2 separate regions of the Homo sapiens genome follow, and region 1 is linked to region 2. The links are contacts of gene promoters, found by promoter capture Hi-C in human tissues and cell types (Jung and others, 2019). All regions are on one chromosome and are shown on one strand. Each heading gives the region's core, a stretch centred on a gene start or on the middle of the fragment in contact. The rest is flanking DNA. Distances are from core to core; before and after follow the strand shown. Region 1 has its middle 24 kb from the start of PTGR3. Region 2 holds the start of SMIM21 (small integral membrane protein 21).

Region 1 (6,872 bases), core at 1,685-4,184, 240 kb after region 2:
TCATCTACCTGCCTTGTTTTGTAGGGGGGAAACTGAGGCCCGAGGAGGAATGGCAGCTGCCCTAGGACACACCACTCTGCCACTCTCACCCAAGCCTTGGGTGGGCCTCTCCCTGCTGTACTCTCCCAGCATAATATAAAGCACTTCCAATTTTTTAAAAAAGTAATATGCAGCATTCTTTTTCTAGAGCTTTTTATTCCAAGGTCATCCACCTATTCTGTTAATGGCAGAAAATCTGTGATAATATTCGGTGGAAAATTCTGTCATTTAAAAGCTCATGACTAGGAAAGGGACCCACAGAGAGGCTTGCCACACATCAGCAAGCAGGTTGTGTTCCATTCAAACACTTCATTCACTTTTCCACTATAGAGGACGTGATCCCTAAGAACGTGTGACCAGCTATGACACAGCCCTAAACTCAACCAGGATGGGCCATCCCCCAGGCATCACTCCATGGGACCGTCAGGGATGAGGGACATCAGTCCCTAACCAGAAGCCAATGGCTGGAACCAAGTGTGGCATCAGAGTCACTGGTCATGATGAGAGAGGTCTCTCATGGCAGTCATGGCTCCTTGTGTGTATATCTTTCTCCTTACCGGGAAAGGCCACCCACACGAAAAGCATGAAAAATGCTGGTGACTGCATACAGTCCTGGGAATCCGGCTACCCAGAGCCAATGCCAAGGGGCAGGAATGAACGACTTTCCCTCGGCCTCACCCTTATCTGGCTGCCAAGATCACCAAATGTTGGGGTAGAGAGAAGAACTTCAGTAAGCAGACTGTGAATGAGAGTTGGACCCCATGACCAGCTAAGGGGCATTGTATTAGTCCGTTCTCACACTGCTAATAAAGACATACCTGAGACTGGGTAATTTACAAAGGAAAGAGGTTTAATTGACTCACAGTTCAGCGTGGCTAGAAAGGCCTCAGGAAGCTTAGTCATGGCACAAGGAGAAGCAAATACGTCCTTCTTCACATGGCAGCAGGAAGGAGAAGAATGAGAGCAAAGTGAAGGGGGAAGCCCCTTATCAAACCATCAGTTCTCCTGAGAACTCACTCACTATCGGGAGAACAGTATGGGGGAAACTGCCCCCATGATTGAATTATCCCCACCTGGTCCCACCTTTGACACATGGGGATTATTACAATTCAAGATGAGATTTGGGTGGGGACACAGCAAAACCTTATCAGGAATCAAGGCGGTGCGTGGAAATGGCCTCCCTTTGCTGCGTGCTGGGATCCCACTCATGCTGGGATCTCTTTGCAAGAGGGATATTGACAGAGATCTAGGAAGAGCCTTGAGCTCTGCATTTTCCTGGAGGTGGGAAGGAATGTGAGTGTGGAGGGCTGCACCTGAGCAGGGCTGTGAGCCAGGGAAGCCTTGAAACTGAGCTCAAGATCCTCATTTTCTCCAAAAACAAACAGCAGGTGTAGGAGTCATGCCTTCTGCAATTTTAGGCAGGATCCTGTCAAGCTTCCTGGATTTCAGCACGTGTGTGACTTCAGAGGCCCCAGGCCTCAGGAACACTGCTTGCTCATCTTGCCCAAGCCTTCAAAGGCCATGTTGTTAAGAGTGTCACTCCTCTGCCCATGCACTGCCAGGTCTGCAAGAACAGGAGCATTATTGGGAGCACTATGAGGGCACTGACTGAGGTTTGTGGGCAGCCTGCTGATGTCCTAAAGTATTCGGTTACAACTGCAGGAGAGAGGACTCAGGACAGATGTACTTCCTTTAGGGGACAACTTTTCATGGAATCGGAGAGTCTTTGGACACAGGTGTCTGCTAGTGGCAGTCCATGCAACCAGGGCCTGGTGGAGCAGGAGTCAGGAGGAGGAGGCAGGCCCAGCTCCCTGGCAATGGGGATGCTCACTTTGGGGCTGACAGGCCCACTCCACACACAGGCTGAGGGGGACAGGGCCCTATTATATGGGTGAGCGGGGCCGGCTCTGGCATCTTGTCATTCTAGCTTGTGTAAGTCAGCAAGCTTAATTGCTCCCAGTCCTTTCAAGCTGACTTTCCACCAACAATCTCATTATCACACACATGTTTAGTTCACATTTCCTGGCCCTTCATGCAGCCCGAATGCAATGAAGGAAGAGAAAATATGAAGTTAACCTATAACATTGTTTGTTCTCTTCCTTCCCCTCCCCCGTGTCTTCAGCCCCCTGGAACCCTGGAAGCTGGGAGAGTGCACGGAGGTGGGACATGGGCCCCTCTGGGCAGCGGGGAAGGGAGGGCTGAGGCCTGGCTGAGCTGGAGCCCCTAGTCCTAGGTTCCAGTATGAACAATAGGGAAGTGTTTTGCCACGTAACAATACTGCCAGGAGCTTGGGAGAATACCCTCTCCAAGAAAGTGGCCTCAGCCATCCATTGCAAGTGTCCAAATCTCCTGCCTGTAGGTTCTGAGTCTGCAGGAGGGGCAGGAGGGCCCAGGTAGAATCCTACCTGCACAGACCTCACACTTCAACAGGGAGGGAGCAACGCAGGTGCACAAATAACGAGAGGCTTCGGGAGAAGGAAAGGCAGGGCAGAGGAGAGACACAACATTTATTCAGCACCTACTGTGATCTAGGCCTTATGCTAAGCGCTTGGTGCATGTTACTTCATCTAATCCTCAGCCAGTGTCTTCTAGACTGACACTGTCCAATAGAGACAGTAACTTGAGCCACACATGAGAGCCACATACGGAATTTAAAATTTTCTCATAGCCACATTAAAAATGTGGAATGTATTTTATGTAACCCAATATATCCAAAATACTGTCATTCCAACTTGTAATCAACATAGAATCTGGAAGAGGTGCCATTTTTTTAAATCAATAAATCTAACATTTCTGTAGTGCACCAGGCACTGATCCAACAGCTTTAGGTAGTAACTTCTTTAATCCTCATAACTAGCCCCCGTGGTAGGATCCATTATTATCACCCCCATTTTACAGATGGGGAAACTGAGGCACAAAGCACTGAAGAGACATGCCTGAGGTTCCAGGGCCAGTAAATAGGACAACTGGGGAGGGACCTGGCAGCTTTACCAGTGGGGCCCAAAGCTTTTCAAAACCATACACATAGCAGGTACTCAGTAAGCATTCAGAGTGTCGATGACCAAAGAAGTTATCTTCCTCTTCACTTATTGATCAAACTGTGGTTCAGAGAAGCCAGGTAAATTCCTCAATGTCACACAGCTGGAAAATGTCCAAGTCCTTAAGCCAGATCTGCCTGACTCAGAAGTTGGGAAGTGTCCCAGCGGGCGTTCAGAGGAAGGATGAATTGTTTGCAGCCAGCTCTATGCAGGGGTGCAGGGGGCATTTGAGCTGAAATTTGCACATATGGAGATGAAGAAACTATTTTGAACTAGGAGAACAGGATCAGCTGCCTCCTTCCACTAGCTGAAGGGGGTGAGGTGGGAAGGAGGGCATTGGGGTAGTGGGCCACAGACTCTGGAGGGCTCGAGGTAGAGTGGAACCGTGGGTTGGAGAGAGACAGCGACCACCCGCTGCCCTTCAGGGTAAGCCCGGGCTCCCTGCTGGCCAGCCCCACCCACCCAGTGCCCACCGAGGGGCAGTGTCGTTCTCCAAACCCCCGGGAGAGAGAAGCTTGCCCCCTGGAAACCAGCCCTCAGGGACCACTGACTTCACTGTGAAATCACCCATGTGGAGTCCCAGTGAGCGCCCCTTAGGAACTGGAAGGCTCTGGTCCAGCTGAGAGGAGTTTGAGGCACCAGCAGGCAGGTGCAGGAGACAGGCAGGCAGAACTCCCACTGTGCCCCAAGGCTGTGGCCAGTACAGCTTCCTGGCACCTGGGGTGGTCTGGAAAGAAGAGCAATATTAATCTTGCCTGAATTTCTGCAACCCATCCAGACAGCACCCACCTGGGCAGAGCCAGGGACCCTGGATGTGAGAGCTACTCTGCTGGGGAAGGGAAGGGAGGCCACTGACCCAGGCCTCTTCCTGACTCCCCCTTCCTCCTTTCCTGCCCCCTCCTCTTCATCACCTTGAAGAACAGATTGAAAGTGTGAAAAGCTCCTTCTCTTCCCATCCCTGTGCAGTTCAGCTATTGGGTTCAAAATCTGTTAAAATATGTTCAAATCCTAGGATTTCAGATCTTGGTTTTATTCTTCTTACATGAAGAAGAAACTGTAAGTACACTTCCATTTATTTAAAAAAAATCATATGCAAGATGGCACGTTAGATTCTCTTTGCAAACCAAGCTGAATACACTTGGTGGTTGCACAGCTCTCCTGGTATATTATTTATTGCGAAGGAAAATTATCGTGCTGATAAGAAAATAGTGTCACTTAAAAATTAGGTGGTTCCCAATCAACTTATGACAGTAATTGCTGTAATGTCCTCTTTGATTTAGATATAGTAATATCAATGTAATTGCCACTGGGAAAAAATTATAATGGCTGTTAATGATAACTAACACATAAATGGCAATGAACAGGAACATGTATTTTATATCGAATTCAACCACTGAGCAGCAGTAAGAAACCCAGTGGTTTTCAACAATCTGGCACCAACCCCTCAAGGAACTAAACCCCCCTCCCTCCTTGTGTAAATGAGGGGGTGGATGCTTACAGGGCGGGGAGTGCAGGGACGTCCTCAACCTCCCCTGGGCTCCATAATGGAGAGTCCTCCAGCCTTCCAGTGACGATGGGGAGGGCAGCCCCAGGAGAAGCCAATGGCCCAGAACCGCTAGACCTGCTTCTGCGGCAGAGCTGGGCATCGCGCCATGAGCACTCACATGGCGACCGTTCTGTGTGACTTTGCTCGTGCTTTAACTCGTTCAGCTCTCATTCACTGGGCACCTACTGTACTAAAGTGAGGATGAAAAGTCTGCAAAACATGGTCTCTGTCCCACCAACTGTACACGTCAAGCGAGCAAGTGCTGAATTGGTTTCTTTGCTGCCTGCACCTCCCATGAGCAGTGGTGTTTGTTGACCGAATGAAGGAGTTCACCGGGGCATGGGTGGGCAGACAAGACAAGGGCTTTTGGTGCCCAGCATGTGTGTACCCTCGCACGCATGGGGCCATAGGGGCATAGTCCTGACCTGCAGGGGAACAGATGCATCCACTGATGGGCCTTCCCTTCCATGGAGAAGAGGCATTACTGTAGCTCTCAGGAGGGTGACTCACCTACAGGACATTTAACTTAGTCACCGACCCGTTTAGCTGGTTTACAGGGATTCTCACCTGGTAAAGAGGGAGTCCTAAGGAAATGAGACTCTAGGCAGAAGATGGTGTGGGCAGAGGGGCACAAAGGAGGGGCAGAGGGAACTCCTGGCCATGGTGGGATCAGGGATCTGGGTAGTAGTCTAGACCAACCCATTCCTTAGGCATGAGTAAGATGCTTAGCCTCAATAGAAGAAGGGCTGGCCATACGGGTAGTTTCCATGGAGGGCTGTGGCTTGCACTTCTCTACGGAGGCTGCTGGGCTTCCCCATGAAGGCCGCACTCGGGAACATTAAATTCTGCAAATCTTAGGGATCCAGGAGAGAATCTGACTATGCATATTTATGAAGTTCCATGGGAAATTCTGACAGGAATAATAACAACAACAGCTACAATTCCCTTAATATTGGGACAAGGCACTATACTATATGCTTTACTCATCTTTCATTTCACTCTCAAAACACACATTTATGGTTGCTAATATTCATCCCATTTTACAGCAAGAAGTAGGCAGGCCAGAAAGGCTGAGTGACTTGTGTTAAGTTCACACGGTAATTGGTGAAGCCAAGCTTGGGGCTAGGCAGTTGACTCCAGCGCCTTCACTCCTGCCCAGTGACATTCCTAAATGGTTCTGGTGGGAGATTATATTTGGCCTAGGTGACTTACAAGGTTCTGTCCAGCTTAATACCTATGATAACGTGAATCTTGTTGGGAAATAAGAGGCACAGAAATCTCCAGAGCATTGGGTGAGGCCAAGGATCTACCTGGGACATTGTGACTGGCAGTACTGGGCAGCAAGAGACCACCTGGATACCCTGGGAAAGGGGGCAGGCATGACCTCCAACCCTGATAATAGAGGTGCTGGTACTACTAACTCTATCCCATTGAAAACAACTGAAAGGGTTGGCTAAAACTTTATGAAAATATAAAATCATCAAGAGCTGACAAAATGGGTAAAAGTAAATTACTAGACCAAAATCCAAGAGGAAATGGCAACCCAGAAACTGAGGCAGAGGACTGAAGCTACTCCTTCTGGAAAGGACTAGCCAAGAATGGAGCACATGAGCTTCCGTTTCCACAGCCTTGCAGCATGTGTGTGGCATAAGACAAAAGCCAGGGCCTCCCGAGGTGAGCAGCCATGGTACTGAGCATAGAAGGGGGAAAGAAAAGAAGAGTCCCCAATCACTGGAACCACACACCAACACTTGGCGGAATTTGTGGCTGATCTAGTTAGTCCAAAAAAACTCAAACCCATGAATTCAGTACCATGTGGACCCAAGTAATCATCCACCCAAAATTCCTGGCAGAAGCAAACATAAATTCTCTCTGAAGGAATGGATCTTCATCTTAAACCTCAAACAATTCCCACATGGAGAATGAACAGATGACATTTCGGAATACTCAATCATCAGAAGAAATAACATGCCGTGAGTCAGAACCCATAGCAGCAAAAGAACAAAGAGAAAACACACAAAACCCTTAGAACTAACAGGTCCAGACCATAAAATAACAATGTTTACCACATTTAAAGAAATAAAGTTCAGTTAAAAAAATCAATAAAATTAACTTGAATACTTGAACACAAAAATGTAATTTTACTAAATAAAATAAATATAACTGAAATTAACAATTCAATTCATGGTTTTAACTGTTGATTTGATATGGCTGAAGAGAGAATTCATAAACTAAAATATAGATGAGAG
Region 2 (6,739 bases), core at 2,096-4,595:
GAGACTTGGAGCTGGAACTAGGTAGCAGGACTCAGAAAACGGAGTCAGGTGTGAAGATCACAGTAAGGACCAGACAATCTGAGGGGGACTGAGATCCAGAAAGAGAACCCGAGCACAGGGACACACTTCACAAGCAAGCCTAATGAAGAGGCTCCAAAAGCCAGGGAGTGACGAAGAGGGAAGGGATGCAAGCCAGGTTCTTTCTGGCAATGTGCAGCCTCCAAACCCCACTTCACGAAAGGACCAGCTTTAGTGTCTGATGCACACTCTTCAAATTTAGCAATAAGCTCTACCAACCAACAATCTATGTTTCCAGGGATGATGATGGCTGTTCCTTCAGAGGCATCGAACCGGTGTCCTGAACTCCTCTGCACTGACTGGGACACCGCAGACCCCTCAGAGGGAAGGAATCGTGCCTATTCATTCCAGATGCGGTGTATGCAGACAGCTCTCTTCACAAGTCCAAAGTTGAGATAACTTCTATGTGCTTGAAAAGTCTCCTTTTCTATGACAGTTTAAAGAAAACATTTTCTTCCAAAGAAAAAAAATATGGCTTACTCTCTATTTTTAGGGGCAAAATAGCAGCAGCAGCTGAAAGTAAAAACCTTTGGGCTCTCACAATCCCATAAAAAAAGCAATAAGATTCTCTAATAAAGCGGGTTAACAGGATAACCTGGACCAAGTCTCTAAATACCGAAGACCCATGGAGGGAGCAGATTCATTTAACTAAGACTCTAATCAGAGGCCACTGATTAATCTTAATCCTACAAATCATCTACTGTGACTCAGCCCATAAACTGCGGGATCTTTCATTCTCATGCCTCATAATAGGTGTGGGAGGAGCCCAACTGACATAAGAAGACTGTGGCATGACATCATAAAAATCACCAAGTGGCATTGTTAAACACCCCCATACGGTTATGAGCCGCACTGCTATGCTAAGCACAGCACGCACACTCAGGAGTGATCTCTCCACTGCTCCTCTGCTGCGTGGGTGACGAGGCTTCTCATTAGTTATCCATGTCCTCGTCTAATCACAAATGCGTTAGTCAAAAACCAGGGCATGTGAGAGTTTATAGGAAACAGGACATCTAAACCTCAAATGAGGGAAGGGAGGAAAAGGAGGGAGGGGTGGGGAAGGTAAGATTCACCAAATTCATTTTGTTTTCTATCACCTGGTACTTCTCCTGGTCTTAGCAGGCCTACGGTTCATTGGCACATGCTTCAGGCTGTAGCCCAAGGCTGGTTTAATCTACTACAGGGTTTAAGTTTTCAAAAAGAATTTTCAGCAGATGCACTAGATATGGTCAAATATTTCAGTGTTGTTCCTAATTATTTGAAGTTAACCACCTAACATCCACAGACTATAGATTACCCTCACCCAGGTCTTCAGCCCCAGTTGATTCAGAGGGCTGTTTAGAATTAACACCCAGTTTTCCTTCCTTAATCCACAGACAACCACACTTAAAGGACAGCTAAGAAGCCGCAATCCCTTCCCAGCAAATAGTGCTTATTATCTTACAGAGCAGGTTCACATCTTGTCACTTCACTTTGACCTCCTGGTTATCCTGCCTATTTTGTAGGAAAGGAAACTGAGGCCTACAAAGGTTGGGTCAATTGTCCTAGGTCATGTGGAGGGCAATCGGTTCAGCCAGGATTTAAACCGCCTTTGCTCTGTTTCTGGTCCTCATAGGTTCTCTACCAGAACTACAGAAGGACAGGAAGAGCTAGAAAAACCATTCCAGAGCTCAACTATAACTGGGCATAAACTCTGAGCTCATTAGAAAACTAGAAAACTATATCCTTTTGCTCTTGTTCACAACTTTTAAGTTGAACTTATCCATAAAGAGGAATTACCATGTTTACAGATTGTAGTGGCCTGATTTGCATATGCTTATCATGAAAATAAACATGATTATGGTTGTTTTTTCCCCTAAGTCTAGTTGGCAGAGAGCAACTTCGTCCCTCCTTGGCACCTGTCTCAACTGTCATAGACCAAGCTGTCCCTCCTAGATGAGGTCTCTTTCCACCCCCTACACCCCACTGTCTTTTAGCAGCTGGAAGTTTAAGGCCTGTGGGAAATTGAAGATTAATTTTTAGTCAGTGTTTTTTTTTTCTCTTTTCTTTAAATCACCAACTCTGAGAATTCTAGATGTTACTCTGCATATGTGTGCTCCACAACTATCAACTTTCACAATTTGGGATCTGCTACAAAACGGGCTTCCGAGCTCCCTTCCTGTCCCTCCACACAGGTCTCAAGCCTCCTCTGTCTCTGCTCCCTCTGCACGTTTCTGCCTTTCCCTTGTCCATGGCCTTGGTGGGACCCACCATTTTTTGCTCTTCTTTCTAGAGAATGAGTCTTGTCTCCAACTAGATGGGAAAAACCACTCAGGACAAGACCATCAGAACAGCACTGGGCTACTGATTTGTATGCTGTGCATATGGTCACTGTTCACATAATAACAGGTATTTTCTTAGTCATACTGTGCGTCAAGCACAGTGCATACTGTCCTGGGCATTTTTACTCAACACCAACACTGTGGAGCACCCATCATGAGCTTCTGTAGGCTGGGACTCACAACTATGTGCATCTCTCTTCATCAGGCACCTTGTCAAAAGCCATCCACACTATGGGGATAACGCTGCAAGTATTTGGTGAACGTGTGTGTGTTAAGTACCACTTAATTTTCCGCTCATTGGGCACCATTTACAAACAGTGGAAGATCTGTGAAAATTCCCATGAGGCAGCACAGCAGCATCCAGAGGCCACCACACACGTCTCATGGCTACTCTCCACCCTGCGATGATGGTCTGCACAGCGCTTCTTCCTGGGGTAGCTCCCAAGTAACCTCCATTCAGCTTTCCTCCTGCTGTTCCATGGTGCTTGTCTTCCAGCAGAATCTCTCTCACTTTAACAATTAAATGGACAACCCAGGAAACCTACACTTGGAATTCAGCGAAAGAAATGTTAGTCTCCTGTGGAGTGTCTCATTAGGTTAAAAGAAAGTTACTGAAAAGTCTGATGGGAAAATGAATTTCTACATTTTGCTTAGGGCCCAAAAAGAATCCCAGATTTTATTTCCATTGAAGTGCATATAGTAGTATTTATTTTGATTCAGGGAGATGCGGTTCATTTTTAATATTCACAAAAGCTTCTTGACATCAGATCCAAAGCTTGTGCTGTGGAGATATGGTTGAACATTCTCACACAGCATCACTGAGCCAGAGAGCAACCTGAGAAACCTCAGAACTCCATGTGCGGGAAGATTCCATCCGACTTCATAAAATAATACCTGGACCTGAGAACTCTACATGTGGGAAGATTCCATCCAGCTTCATAAAATAATACCCAGATCTTCAAGGTTGGCAAAGAAGAGAAAAGCTCCTTGGGAACTTAGTTACCAGGTCTTATAGCACCAGCTCTGTGTCCTCAGAGTCGCTGTCATCAAGGAGACCTCTCACTGGTCACCGCCGCAGCCCCCACATGGACCAGTATGTGTCCACAGCTCCTCCCCGATTCCCTATAGCACAGCTGGGAACATTTAAACAAGACTCTGCAGGAATGGGACGGATATTCAAGGGGAATTTGCTGCAGAAGAAAGCACTTACCACAGTGAGTTTATGGGTCTTTAACTTTGGGTTATGAGAGAGACGTATCACTGCACAGGTATGGTCCTACAAAGCACTCTTTTGCCCCAATCTCCTGTGAGTGCTCTGTCTCTCAAATCCAGATTCTACGAAGTTTAAGATGAGACGTCAATCCAGAGCTCTTTCTTTCTCAGTTCTGGCCAAGACAACCTCCCAATTCCAATTCCCAATCTGAGGAAGAGCTGCCCCTTTCAGAAAAGGTACTGGGCCCTCCCCTTGACATTACATCAGTATACAGGCCAATGAGTCAATGATCTCTCCCCTACAGAGAGAGCCTCTTAACACAGATGCAAGGATACCTCCAAATGCTTTAAGCCTAGGTGCACCTGCAACACCTACAAACTCAACCTACCCAGACAAATTTGATACTGCACTCCTAGAAGAAAGTTTCTTTTCCTTCATTACAGGACAGAAGCAAAAGTTGCAACAAATTTAACCATTCATGAACCAGTAGCCAATGTGCAGGCAACAGATGGCATTTATAGACACCCCATTTGCAGAGGTGATGGGGTGATCAATAGCTTCTGAAAAGGAAGTTTATGACCCAGTCATATATCGGAAAGGTTAAAGTCCTAAGACAAAATTTCTGGAATGTCTTCTCCTGTAGCACAGGGTTCCTCTTAGTGTTTCTGACTGTGAAGAGGAGATGGATGGGAGCAGGCAGGTAGCATCTCCTTCCTCTGTCTTGATCCCCACTGCTGCTTCTTTATTTCCTTTTCCTTTTTCCATTTTTTTTTTTTTTTTTTTTTTTTTTTTTTTTTTTTTTTTACATTTTAAAAGTAATGGTCTAGGGCCGGGTGCAGTGGCTCATGCCTGTAATCTCAGCACTTTGGGAGGCCGAGGCGAGGAGATCACAAGGTCAGGAGATTGATACTATCCTGGCTAACACAGTGAAACCCCATCTCTACTAGAAATACAAAAAATTAGCCAGTCGTGGTGGCGGGCACTTGTAGTCCCAGCTACTTGGGAGGCTGAGGCAGGAGAATGGTGTGAACCCGGGAGGCAGAGCTTGCAGTGAGCCGAGATTGTGCCACTGCACTCCAGGCTGGGTGACAGAGCGAGACTCTGTCCCTCAAAAAACAAACAAACAAACAAACAAACAAACAAATAAATAAATAAAAGTAATGGTCTTAAAGTTCTTCAGTCTTAAACAAATTATAGAAGGCTTTAAAAGCTGGTTTTGTGCATTTCATATGTGATAGTTGTAAGTCGATTTGAAGTCCTTCTAATACTTTATAAATTTCATCAATCAACATCCAGGTAGGTAGAATCTTAGGTACATGATGATGGTTATGAATTAATACTAGGCCGGTGTGTGCTGGGTTTGTCTCCAGGCCTTGCGTGAGGGCTGTGATGGGGTGCATGACTCAGGAGGCACTCGGTGGGCAATCAAAAGAGGCAATGGTAACACAGCACCTCAAACATTTCAGGGCAGCTGGTCTGCACCAGGTACACAGTAGGCATGAGGAGTGCAAAGATGGGAGAGGCAGGGGCCCCCACCTCAGGGAGCACACAGATACAGAGACTGTCCCTGTCCCCTCCATCTTCAACTCTTGATTTCTTCCATCTTTCTTAGGTTGGAGGTTAACTTGCTGCTGAAGAGATTTCAGCAGGATGGGAACTTACATATAATCTGAATAATCAAATGTAAAAGAGTTCATCTTCTGGGTCCCACTTCTGCTATTTTCATCCACTGCTTCCTACCCATGTGCTAAGCATTTTCATGCAGCCTCGTCTGTCTTTTCAATAAGAAAGCCAGTTGATAACTGATTCACACTTAGGTGGGCTGTTAAACCACAAAATGTTGACAAGGAAAACAACACTTAATAATAAATCATATGATGGTAACGTTTCTGTAGCCAGTAGGAAAATGGTTTCAGGTGTGAACAATTCTCACTACTTCATGGATCATACGACATAGATACTGTTCATTAATGACTCTAAAGCCAATACAGGGCATGAAACTATAAGGAATTCCTTCCTGCTATTGTCCAGGCAGTGGAATGGGACTTTTTTTTTCTTTTGGCCAGTGTTCACTGGTTCCACTATGTTTCTGATCAGATCTTCACATTTAATTTCTTCTTAGGTATTCATGCATCTAGGAGTTCTTATGTACTGGAAACTCAGTATCTCCTGTTTGCAGGCAGTGACTGGGTGTTCATTAAATCCAGATATCTCTGGATGGAGGCTGTGGATAAGCTTGGTGTCCAGTGGAATCTCTCTCATGCACAGACGACGAAAATCCAAAAGCTCACATTGGTTCCAGTACAACAGACAGCCTGTTCCACTGGAGTTGTGTCAGCTGAGGTGTGCACATTTGTATCATCTGTCACAACTATTTACCCCTCTCTTTTCTCAGTAACAGCAGATACACTCGCCCATCGCCATGAGACTTGAGGGAGCTGATCCACTACCAGGCTTGGCCTGTGGCTTGCTTTGCCCACAACAGCGTGAGGAGTGTGATGTGCAGCACATCTGAGCAGAAGCTTTAAAAGCAATTGTGTGCTTTGGTTCTTCCCCTTGTACTTCTCATCTTCCATGAAAAGGGCCTGTTCTCCCAGATCTCTGCTCCTTAGCCTGAGTCTGGGAATGAGAAGACACACAGTGTCACATTAGTGAGACATTTTAAATAAGAAAGAAGTGTTCATTGTTACAAACTGCTGAGATTGGGGAGGCAGGGGTGTTGTCACTATGAGACATCTACTACAATGTGATATGGGCTCTAGGACAAGGGACATGCACTTCATCCCTTGTCACAATGATTTTAAAAATCCATTACTATGCACAGGACTTGGAGTGATACAGGCATCAGGCAGACAGGATAGCAAGTGCACTGGGATGCTTCCAAAGTTTTCAGGGATTTCAACAGTCCTATCAATTGAAGGAAGAGTGATCCTCCACCCCATGCAAGGACATTATTAGTGTGAAACTCCCAAGTGCTGTATCCTAAACATACCCCCTTAATAATGGAAAGAAATCCTCCCTCCTCTGAGTTAATTACATAAACTATATATTATTCATCAGATTTCTATATAATATTGCTTCTACTTGTATGTGCAATCATAAAATGATTCATAAAGTTTCAGGTCAA

The links. Contacts are between HindIII fragments. The study calls those that stand out against the background at their distance.
Region 1: a contact is called between a fragment that was not itself captured here and the fragment with the promoter of SMIM21 in region 2, in 4 of the 25 tissues and cell types used here (heart left ventricle, lymphoblastoid cells, mesenchymal stem cells and 1 more).

What each region holds. Positions count from the first base shown.
Region 1 is chr18:75,182,004-75,188,875 of GRCh38, reverse strand. No RefSeq gene overlaps it. Among named protein-coding and RNA genes, the nearest start is that of PTGR3, 24 kb to the left of the region's middle. The HindIII fragment of the contact is 3,462 bases long and covers 1,204-4,665 here.
Region 2 is chr18:75,424,309-75,431,047 of GRCh38, reverse strand. It overlaps SMIM21 (small integral membrane protein 21), which reads left to right and starts at 3,345. Exons shown (of 3, transcript NM_001037331.3): 1 at 3,345-3,613. The coding sequence starts at 3,485. It overlaps LOC105372200 (a long non-coding RNA gene), which reads right to left. Exons shown (of 4, transcript XR_935636.3): 4 at 4,387-6,231. RefSeq lists an enhancer at 53-1,252. The HindIII fragment of the contact is 8,486 bases long and covers 58-6,739 here.